Linked DNA regions of Homo sapiens: region 2 is linked to region 1. The links are contacts of gene promoters, found by promoter capture Hi-C in human tissues and cell types (Jung and others, 2019). All regions are on one chromosome and are shown on one strand. Each heading gives the region's core, a stretch centred on a gene start or on the middle of the fragment in contact. The rest is flanking DNA. Distances are from core to core; before and after follow the strand shown. Region 1 holds the start of TMEM115 (transmembrane protein 115). Region 2 overlaps CACNA2D2 (calcium voltage-gated channel auxiliary subunit alpha2delta 2).

What was found. The method cuts DNA at HindIII sites, captures the fragments that hold promoters and counts their contacts. A contact is called where the count stands out against the background at its distance.
Region 2: a contact is called between a fragment that was not itself captured here and the fragment with the promoter of TMEM115 in region 1, in 2 of the 25 tissues and cell types used here (neural progenitor cells and pancreas).

What each region holds. Positions count from the first base shown.
Region 1 is chr3:50,356,698-50,361,648 of GRCh38, reverse strand. It overlaps TMEM115 (transmembrane protein 115), which reads left to right and starts at 2,128. Exons shown (of 2, transcript NM_007024.5): 1 at 2,128-3,436. The coding sequence starts at 2,586. LOC127898564 (CYB561D2-LOC101928965) reads right to left here. Exons shown (of 5, transcript NR_183066.1): 3 at 2,973-3,531. RefSeq lists enhancers at 1,909-2,208, 1,935-2,825. The HindIII fragment of the contact is 17,456 bases long and covers 1-4,951 here.
Region 2 is chr3:50,486,632-50,491,582 of GRCh38, reverse strand. The region is part of intron 1 of CACNA2D2 (calcium voltage-gated channel auxiliary subunit alpha2delta 2); the gene reads left to right. Among named protein-coding and RNA genes, the nearest start is that of CACNA2D2, 15 kb to the left of the region's middle. RefSeq lists an enhancer at 2,929-3,429. The HindIII fragment of the contact is 4,875 bases long and covers 1-4,862 here.

The sequences.
Region 1 (4,951 bases), core at 879-3,378:
AAATAGATGAAGGGGCTTCGAGGCCTCAGCCAAGATGGAGACTTTTTCTGTCTCCTCTGCAGGGTTCGGCTGCAGAGCAATGCCTAATCCACAACCCCCAAGACAGCTCCCATGGCCTGCAAGAGACCGTGCAATCTTGGATAGGGTTGTAAGATAAAATACAGAACACCCTATTTTGAATTTCAGATCATGAACGAGTTTTTAGTATGGAAGTGTTTCAACTATTGTGTGGGACATACCTATACTGAAAAACTGGGGGCTGGGCACAGTGGCTAACGCCTGTAATCCCAACACTTTGGGAGGCTGATGCAGGAGGATCGCTTGAGCTCACGAGTTCGAGATCAGCCTGGGTAGGATGGCCACCCCGCCCCTGCCCATGTCTCTACAAAATAAAAAAATTTTAAAAATTAGCTGGGCACAGTAGTGTGTGCCTGTAGTCGCAGCTAATCAGGAGGCTGAGGCTGGAGGATCCCTTCAGCCCAGGAGTTAGAGGTGGCAGTGAGCTATGATTGTGCCACTGCACTCCAGCCTTGGACAAAGCTAGACCCTGTCTCAAAAAAAAAAAAAAAAAAAAAAGGGGGCAGGGGGACATGATTATACTCGAAGATTACTCATTGTTTATCTGGAATTCAAATTTGACTGAGCATCCTTATTTTGATTTGCTAAAACTGGCAACCTTACCCAGATGTGGCAACCAGTGGGAACCCAGACCCCAGAAAAAAAGCATCAGCACCCTTTTTAACCTGTAGGCCATGCACACATCAGCACACACTGAAATCAGTGGCTGAAAGGAAGGGATCCTGTGTTTTATAAAAGCACTTTGTCATAGAATTATTTTAATTATATGGACAGCTTTTTGTTTTGTTTTGAGACAAAGTTTCGCTCTTGTTGCCCAGGCTGTAGTGCAATGGCATGATCTTGGCTCACCGCAACCTCCGCCTCCCGGGTTCAAGCGATTCTCCTGCCTCAGCATCCCGAGTAGATGGGATTACAGGCATGTGCCACCACACCTGGCTAATTTTGTATTTTTAGTAGAGATGAGGTTTATCCATGTTGGTCAGGCTGGTCTCAAACTCCCGACCTCAGGTGATCTGCCCGCCTCAGCCTCCCAAAGTGCTGGGATTACAGGCGTGAGCCACCGTGCCCAGCCTATATGTACAGTTTTTTAAAAGTAACTCCATATACAAAAAAAAAAAAAAGACACAGAACACAACCTGTCAGAAGTCACTGTGGCGTGAAGTGGGACCAGAACAGGCCTAGCCCAGGCTTGTGGAGAGACCTGGCTTGTAGAGAGACCTCTCATCCTCCGCAGTTATCAGAAGTCCCTGGTGGGGAGGAGGGTCACTGAGGGCTGCCCAGCCTCGTCCCTATGCGGGAGGGAGCCCTAGGTTCGTGCTCCAGGTCCACCTCACTTGGAAAAAGGGCAACGTGAAATAACAAACAAAAAACTTTTCCAAGTGGGAGAAAACAAACAAAAAAAGGCAACATGTGCAGCACTCGCTGAGCACCCAGGGTGGACTGGCATTTTACACCCCTTTCCCCTTTGATTATTAGGACAGGAAGATCATGTCATCAGCTACATTTTATGGCCCATGAAACTGAGTTTCAAAAAGGTTCAGGAACTTAACCAACCAATGCCACACAGCCTCCGAGGCAGAGCAAGGGTTCCAGCCTGGGTCAGGTCCCATTCACCAGACCACGGAGGTTCTGTTTCTCACACAGTGACACCTACCCACACGCCAGCCAACAAGGACACACTCGCTCAGAGGTACACGCACAAATAGAGCTACTCTTCCTAGGGAATTCAGCAAGTGTGGGGGCTAGAGCTGTGTTGCTTCCCGAACCCTCACCGCCGCTTTCAGGGGTTAGAGATGCTAATTCATCCCTTCCCACCTCCTGAGAACCGACGGAAACGGTCCCTGAGAACTACAACTCCCAGCACACCCCGCGCTCACCACAACGGGACCGGTCCGTGCTCATGGCCTCCTGGGACTTGTAGTTCTAGCCAGAACCCTGTTCAACTCTTCCCCGGCTGCAACCAAGGACTCCGTATCCCAGCATGCAGAGGAGCCGGAAGACAGGCGCTTAGAGGACAGCCCGCTGCCGCCGGGGACGCGCAGGCGCAGCACCCCTGTTTGTCGGCCCCCCGAGAGAAGAGGTACGGTCGAAGCCAGGAGCCAGGCCGAGCGGGAGCTGACCAGGCTTGACTCGGGTACAGAACGAGGCACCAGTCCCCTTGCGAACCGAAGGGCCTCGCAGTGGATGGAGGAGGCCCAGCCCTGAGGTCAACGCCAACCAGGCTAGCCTGGCACGGGGCCTACAGGGTGGGTAGGCGGGCGTGCCGCAGCCGTCCAGGGCCTTCCCTCAGGTCCCGGGCGAGGGGCCTACGCTGCGGCCCGGCAACAAGGCCCGACTCGGCCCCTCGGGACCAGAGCCCCACCCGATCGGAAGCGGATCCTTTACCAGGGCCATAGGCCAGTGACTAGGCCGGGCCTGGGCCTCCCATCGGGGCCGGACTAGGACGAGGCCCCGGGGAGGCCCCTGGCCTACCAGACCCTTTTCTCAGGCCGACAGCCGCCAGGAAGATGCAACGTGCCCTGCCAGGCGCCCGCCAGCACTTGGGGGCCATTCTGGCCAGCGCCAGCGTGGTGGTGAAGGCTCTGTGTGCGGCGGTACTATTCCTCTACCTGCTCTCCTTCGCCGTGGACACAGGCTGCCTGGCGGTCACCCCGGGCTACCTCTTTCCTCCCAACTTCTGGATCTGGACCCTGGCCACCCATGGGCTGATGGAGCAGCATGTGTGGGACGTGGCCATCAGCCTGACAACGGTGGTGGTGGCCGGGCGTTTGCTGGAGCCCCTCTGGGGGGCCTTGGAGCTGCTCATCTTCTTCTCAGTGGTGAATGTGTCTGTAGGGCTGCTGGGGGCCTTCGCCTACCTCCTCACCTACATGGCTTCCTTCAACCTGGTCTACCTGTTCACTGTCCGTATCCACGGCGCCTTGGGCTTCCTAGGTGGCGTCCTGGTGGCACTCAAGCAAACCATGGGGGACTGTGTGGTCCTGCGAGTGCCCCAGGTGCGCGTCAGTGTGATGCCCATGCTGCTGCTGGCGCTGCTGCTCCTGCTGCGGCTCGCCACGCTGCTCCAGAGCCCGGCGCTGGCTTCCTATGGCTTCGGGCTGCTCTCCAGTTGGGTATATCTTCGCTTCTACCAGCGCCATAGCCGGGGCCGAGGGGACATGGCTGACCACTTTGCTTTCGCCACTTTCTTCCCTGAGATCCTGCAGCCTGTGGTGGGTTTGCTGGCGAACTTGGTGCACAGCCTCCTGGTGAAGGTAAAGATATGCCAGAAGACGGTGAAGCGCTACGATGTGGGTGCCCCATCCTCCATCACCATCAGCCTGCCAGGCACAGACCCTCAAGACGCCGAGCGGAGAAGGTACTGTGAAATTTTCCAAAATCTTGTCAAGCTAGGAGCATACTGGTCGAGTCACATGCCATCTGTTGAGGTGTTCGCTGTACATAGGTGGAGACCTACAGTCAGGTATTGGGGCACATCCGGAAAGACAAAATCAGTCTTTGGCCTTAAGGAACTCAGCAGTTAGGTGTCTGGGGTCCACGAGGCACTTTTCTCACCACTCGGGCCACTTAATAAGTCTCAAGAAATGCAGTTTCCTTTGGTGCTGTGAAGTCCCAGTGGAGGGACACAGAACCCTGGCCTTGCCTCAGAATCTCAGAATCCTAGACATTGGGCCTGTGGGAGCCAGAAGCAACCTGCTGGTACTTTCCCCTGTGAGGAAGGGACAGGGAAGGAGGCCTGGGGTCCTCAAAAGGTGATCTGGGCCACTCCAATTTCCAAATGCTGTGTCCTCTTCCTGGGCTTTAACTCAGATGCTGTGCTTCTCTGCCACTTACTTATTGAGAGGGAAGCTTGGGGTATTACCACATTTACCTCTGTCTCCAGCAAGCATGTGTCACCAAAACCAGGGACAGGCTACATGACCCACTGAGGGAGCCTGCTGACACCAGGGAGTGGCGATGACCCTTTCATTATCTGTAAACCAAGCTATCCACAGCATCAGGAGTCCCAGCTGAATTATTCACTGAATGCACTTTGGCCAGGGCAGGAGGGATCTTTTTAAATTCAGCTTACTCTCTCTCCCAGATCTGTGGAGCCAGCAGAGTGGTCCCAGCCTTCATAAGATCCACAGCTCCATTTCCAACATTATTCCTCACTGTTTTGAGGCAATTACTCGAGTAGTAAAATCTGGGACGGGCTTTGTCTTTTGCATTGCCAAGGCTCCTGCTTTTGCTCACCTGTGAATGGGGTTGTGGCAGGAAGCTCTATGAATTTAGCTGCAGTTATCCCTGTATTTACTCTCCACTGGGCTATGGAATTGAGTGTGGGACACACTCCTTTCTTGAAGGAGTTCCAGCTGGGGAAGGGCCACAGATCACTATGGCCCAAGGTATGGTAGGTGTTGAAAAGTATATACAGCATGCTGCAGGGCATAATTCTGGGCCCTAGAGCTTGGGTCTTTATAGGTGATAAGCCCTAAGGACAGAAGTCTCTCTTAACCTTAGCTGGTATTAAAGATGGGGCCAGGTGAGCTGGGCCTGGTAGGAATTGAGCTGTCCCTCAGAGCCATTCAGGTGGGGCCAGGCCAGTGGGGACCCCTCCTCCACTGAGAGGTGTTGGAATGTTAGGGTTGGCTGGACATTCAAAAACCTCTGCCTAGGCCCAAGAAAATGGACAGGGGGGAAGCAGGTTGGTGGGGAGGAAGGGAGGGTCAAGAGGCGGGTTCTTGGCATAGCCTTATGGTTGTTAGCTTACATGGGGGTGGCGGTTATTCCTCCAGCCAGTTTGACATCTGACTGCATGGCCACGCCCAACTCCAAAGGGCTACCAGGAGAGGGAGGCAGGGTTTCCTATCTGTCTCTCTGGTCCTTGTGA
Region 2 (4,951 bases), core at 1,176-3,675, 130 kb before region 1:
TCCATCCTTCACTCTCCTTTTTCCGCCCCACTCCATGCCCACCTCACCCCCTGGGCTGTGCCTAGCAGTACGTGGGCAGAGCAACTTGAGGGGAGGGAGGCAGCATGTTTAATTGTTTAAGCCACACCTTGGCTGGCGCAGGCCACAGAAGCCCTAGGGGCTTGTACAGTAGGGTCTGTGGGCCTCCCCTTGGCCCTTCCTCTTCCAGTCTCCTCCTAACCCGCCTTAGCCTCACTGTGATAGTCTGGGCAAGCCTCCTGCCGTCCTCCTCCGAGCCTCAGTGTCCTCACTGTTCTCAGCACCCTCCATAGAAAGGGATCCTTCTGCAGCTGACAGTGGTGCTCCCCCTGCCACCTCATCTGCATAACTGTCATCTCTGTTCTGTCCTTTCCTGTAACCGGTGCTTGTGGAGACCTCAGCAAGGAGGCTGCTTCTGATGGGCACGGGGAGGGGCACAGAGTGGGATCTCTGCCCTCAGAACTGAGTGCCCAACAGAACAGAAGCCATCTCATTCCATGGGGGCTTAACAAGCACCTGCAAGCACTCAGCATGGAGGAAGCTGGGGAGAGGTTGGATGGGCTGCCGAGGGCCCTGCCAACCCCAGGCAGGACCCACCTGTTGTCCCACTGACCTCTGCCTGTCCTTCGGTGCTTGGCTTGGAGTCACTGTCCCCTGAAACCTTCGCTGACCTCCTTGTCTGGGTCAGAGGCCTCCTAGCCTGCTTCAAGCCCCTGTCCTCCCTATTCTTGTCCTGAAATAGACCTTGCTGCCTGGCTGCTCAGGGACTATGTGGCTGGGAGGGGTGGGGGCAGTGGCTGGTTGCCCTTGGCTGGAGCTCCCAGCTAGCATACACCAAGTACTCAATCCATATGTGCTGAACAGGGAGCCCATGGTCTGTGCAGGTGTCCACAGAGCCAAGCTCGTCATGACTGTGGAAAATGGAGCAGCCTCTTACACAGCAGCCTGGGACAGAGCCTGGCTTTGCTGGAGCCAGAGGGCATAGGCCACTCCCACATATCTTCCTGTGGCTTTTGCAAGGAGTTTTCCCAGCCCAGGGGCTGCCACCAAGGGCTGCTCTGGGGAGGGAAGTAAAGGGGGTGTCCAGAGACCCACTGACCTGTATTATTTAATGGGGTGGGAGGCAGGGTCCAGGCATTAGCATGTTTTCTAGAGCCCCCTCTTCCCCCTAAGTTGAGCCAAGGTACAGAACTGTGGCCTTAGGGGATAGGAAGATAAACACAGGATCCTCACCCTCTGCCCAGCAAGGGGGCACTGAGGCTCCCAGGGTTGGGGGATGGTGTATATTGGTTCTGAGCAATGTCCTAACCATGGTATCTATGGGAGCCAGCTGAACCCAAATGCCTGTGCATGCAGCCAGTTGCCAAAATCTGCAGCTTGTCCCAGGGAGATCACCTGGCTTCCCAGCCGTCTGCCCCGCTCCTTCCAAACCGCTCCTCTGCATAGACATTTGCCCATGCCCCATCTGCCCTGCCGCCCACTCCACAGCCTGCCCATCTTTCAGGACCTGCTTCCTGACCATCCCTTCCCCACCTGAATCCACTCCCACACCTTAGCTGTGTGTTGCCCTGAGTGGGCTCTGGGGTCTCCAAGGGCCAACTGGGTCCCTGCTCTTGGGACACTCAGTCCATGGGGGAGATAAACAGTGAAGAAGACATGGGAGTGAGGCCAAATAAATAACACCATGCATGGTTGGTGCTCCAAGCAGCATCCAAGGGGCCATGAGACATCCTGCTCCAGGCCCCCAGGCTCCCCTGCCATTCCCATGGCCCTGGGCCTCCCCAGTCAGGGTGTGGAGGTCCTGGGGAGATCACCTGGACACATCTTTCTCCATGGATAAGCCATTGATGGGGGGACGAGGTAAGGGGCAGGAGTTGAGTAGGGGAGAGGCTTGCCTTGCATATAGATCCAGCCCCAGCCCCAGCCCCAGCCCCAGCCCCAGCCCCAGTTTTGGAGGCTCCCGGCAGCCCCACCGCTGTCTTTCTGATGCGCTTCCGGGGCTGCTGCTCCCCTGGGCAGTGCCTCCTAGCACTTACCATGCCTTGGGCTGCCCAGACCTCATGACTATGGCCCTGCCTGTCTGGCGCCCCATAGCCCCATCTTCCCTGGCACAGAACAGCTGGGGAGGGGGTTGTGGGGAACAATCCCAAAGGCCATTAAGCCTAGTGATTTACACGGTTCCTGAGCCAGCGCGGGGGGAAGTATGTTTCACAGGTGATTTCCAGACTGGTGGCATATGGAGGAGGCCATTACTCTACAATGAAGAAGGATGGGGACTTCATGGGGCCATCTAGAAGGCCCTGGAGCTGTGGGCCCTGATGCATATGCCTGCTGTGTGGTAGAAAGCCTGGTTCTGGGGATTATAAAGGGAACCCCATATGTGACCTTGTTTGTGCCCCAGTTACCTCATCTTTATGATGGGATCACATTTCCTATGTTTCATAGTTGTAAGGATGGAACATCCAGTCATTCAGCCAGCATTTTTTGAGCACCTTCTGCCTGTCAGGTGCTGTTCTCAGGAGATGATGTTCTAGTGACAATATCTGTGTCAGAAAACACCAGGAAGGACGTGCGCGGTGGCTCATGCCTATAATCCCAGCACTTTGGGAGGCTGAGGTGGGCGGATCACAAGGTCAGGAGATCGAGACCATCCTGGCAAACAGGGTGAAACCCCATCTCTACTAAAAATACAAAAAAATTAGCCAGGTGTGGTGGTGGGCGCCCGTAGTCCCAGGTACTCGGGAGGCTGAGGAAGGAGAATGGCATGAACCCGAGGGGCGGAGCTTGCAGTGAGCAGAGATCACATCACTGCACTCCAGCCTGGGCAACAGAGCGAGACTCTGTCTCAAAAACAAAAACAAACAAAAAAAAAACACCAGGAAAATGGCGAAAGCTTTGCACTTGTGGGCACTTCTTGCTAGGGGGGTGGTAGAGGGGCTGCAGCAGGCGGGAGCTCCCATGGAGCTGGGGGAAGAGGTGTGGGGGGTGGGGTGGGTAATAACAATATCCCCAGCCTCTAATGTTTGTTGTGCTGAGCCTCAGTACTCTCTGCTGCCCTCACCCTGGGGTCAAGATTGCAAGATACAAAGTACAGGGCAGTGTCAGGATGCCGGGGGGAAGAGGCTCTGCACCCGGGCCCAGTTGTGATGGGTACTGGTTTGTTTCTGTGGAGTGAATGAATGAATGAATGAATGAAATCAGCTCCTGAGAGACTGAGCTCCCACTTAAAGAGGCCCAGCTTCCCTGGGCACAGCCGTCTCACTGCCCTTCCATCCAGTGTGTGGAGGTGCTCCCATGTACTTGAGGGTAGGAATTCTGCAGGCCTCGGTGTGGGAGCAGCCTGCCTTGGTGCCCACGGTCGGTCTGTGGGTGCTCACGGGGCATCACTGTGTGTGGAGCCCACTGCTGGGCCTTGCATATGTTGTGCCCTCCATTTGGATTGCCCTCCTGCTCTGTGGTGCCACCTTCACCTGGCCAGTCCCTAGGCCAGGTCAGGCCCCTTCCCATGCATCCCATGCATCCCATGCATCCTGTCCCCAAGGCTTGCTGGACTCTTCTTCTCATCAGGCCCCAATCCGGATCAGGTATCAGCTTCCTCTGCTTGGATTCCAAGCTCCCAAGGACAGGCCTGCATCTGCCCTGCTTGCTGCCAAATCCCTCCCAGGTGCCCATAGTAGGTACATGGTTACTATCGGAATGAATGAATGAGTGAGTGAGTGACTAGGTGGGGAGTGAGCGAGCTAGTTGGGAATTTACAGAAAGTTGGAAGCACCTGCAAAGCATTTTGCCAGTAATTTGACCTGCTGGTTCAGCCACCTGCCTCTCCTTAAGCCAATCATGAGGCTCACCAGGCAAGGTGGCTTCTCTCGGATTGGGGAGGCTAGAAAGGTGGGGTAGCTGGGGCTGCACTAGAAGCCCCTTGCTTGTGCAGCTGTGGATCCCTCACAGCCTGCAGAGGGGATTTGCTTTGCTAAAGGAGTCACCACAGAGCACCCGAGAGTAACAGGTTCATGGCGTGTCAAGGCAGGTTGAACACTCACATTCCATTTACATACAGCTTGGCGCACTCTAAGGGTCCAGGCACTAGCAAGAAGCAGATCCCAGAGGAAGTGGGCATTCTCCCCATACCTGGCTCAGGCTCCCTGGTGGGGGCATTGGAGGGAGCTGGGGCTCTGCCCTGCTGGCCAACGTTCCTACTGCAGGATAGCCCTGATAGGGTATAAGGAAGGACTTCCCCATTGCACTCAGCTTTGGCTTGCTTGTGGAGGCAGTGAGTTCCTGAGGTAGCCCCCTTCTCAAAGTTGGAAAAGGCTGTATACGAGGGGCGGCTCTTACCTGCAACCTACTTCCTATTTGGCCATTGGAGTCCCCCTTGAGGTTAAGGAGGCCTGACAGCCTAGGGGACAGGGCCATGGCTGAGTTGACTGGGTTCAGATTGTGGTTCAGCAGTGTGGTCTCGGGCAAGTTGCACCATTTCCACAGGCCTCAGAGTGCTCATCCGTGAAGTGGGCATGAACTGGCCTGCGCCTGGCCGAGGTACCATCGCTGCAGTGGAAATCACATGGAGTGCCCAGCACGCAGGCCCTCCGCGTCAGCATTGCCTTTCCCTGGTGCTTGGCTGCCTGCTGAAATGGGGGCCCCTTTCCCAGCCCTGTCCTCCAGCCTGTCTTCTACTGCAGAGTGAGGTGGTCAGGGCAGGCCAGTCTGGTAGGCGGAAGATGTTCTGGTAAATTTATCTCCAAGTGTTTCCAGAACTCTTTTTGGCCAGGCTCCAGGCTAAGCTCTGTAGGAAGCTTGATGATGGGACTAGGCTGCAGCCCCAGCCTAAGATGAGGCTTGGTAAAGTGTGGTGAGAACTGTGGCTTTGAGAAGAGGGTAGGGGAAACCTAGGAAAGCTTCCTGGCAGAGGTGACTTGGCCAGGTAGAGGAAGGA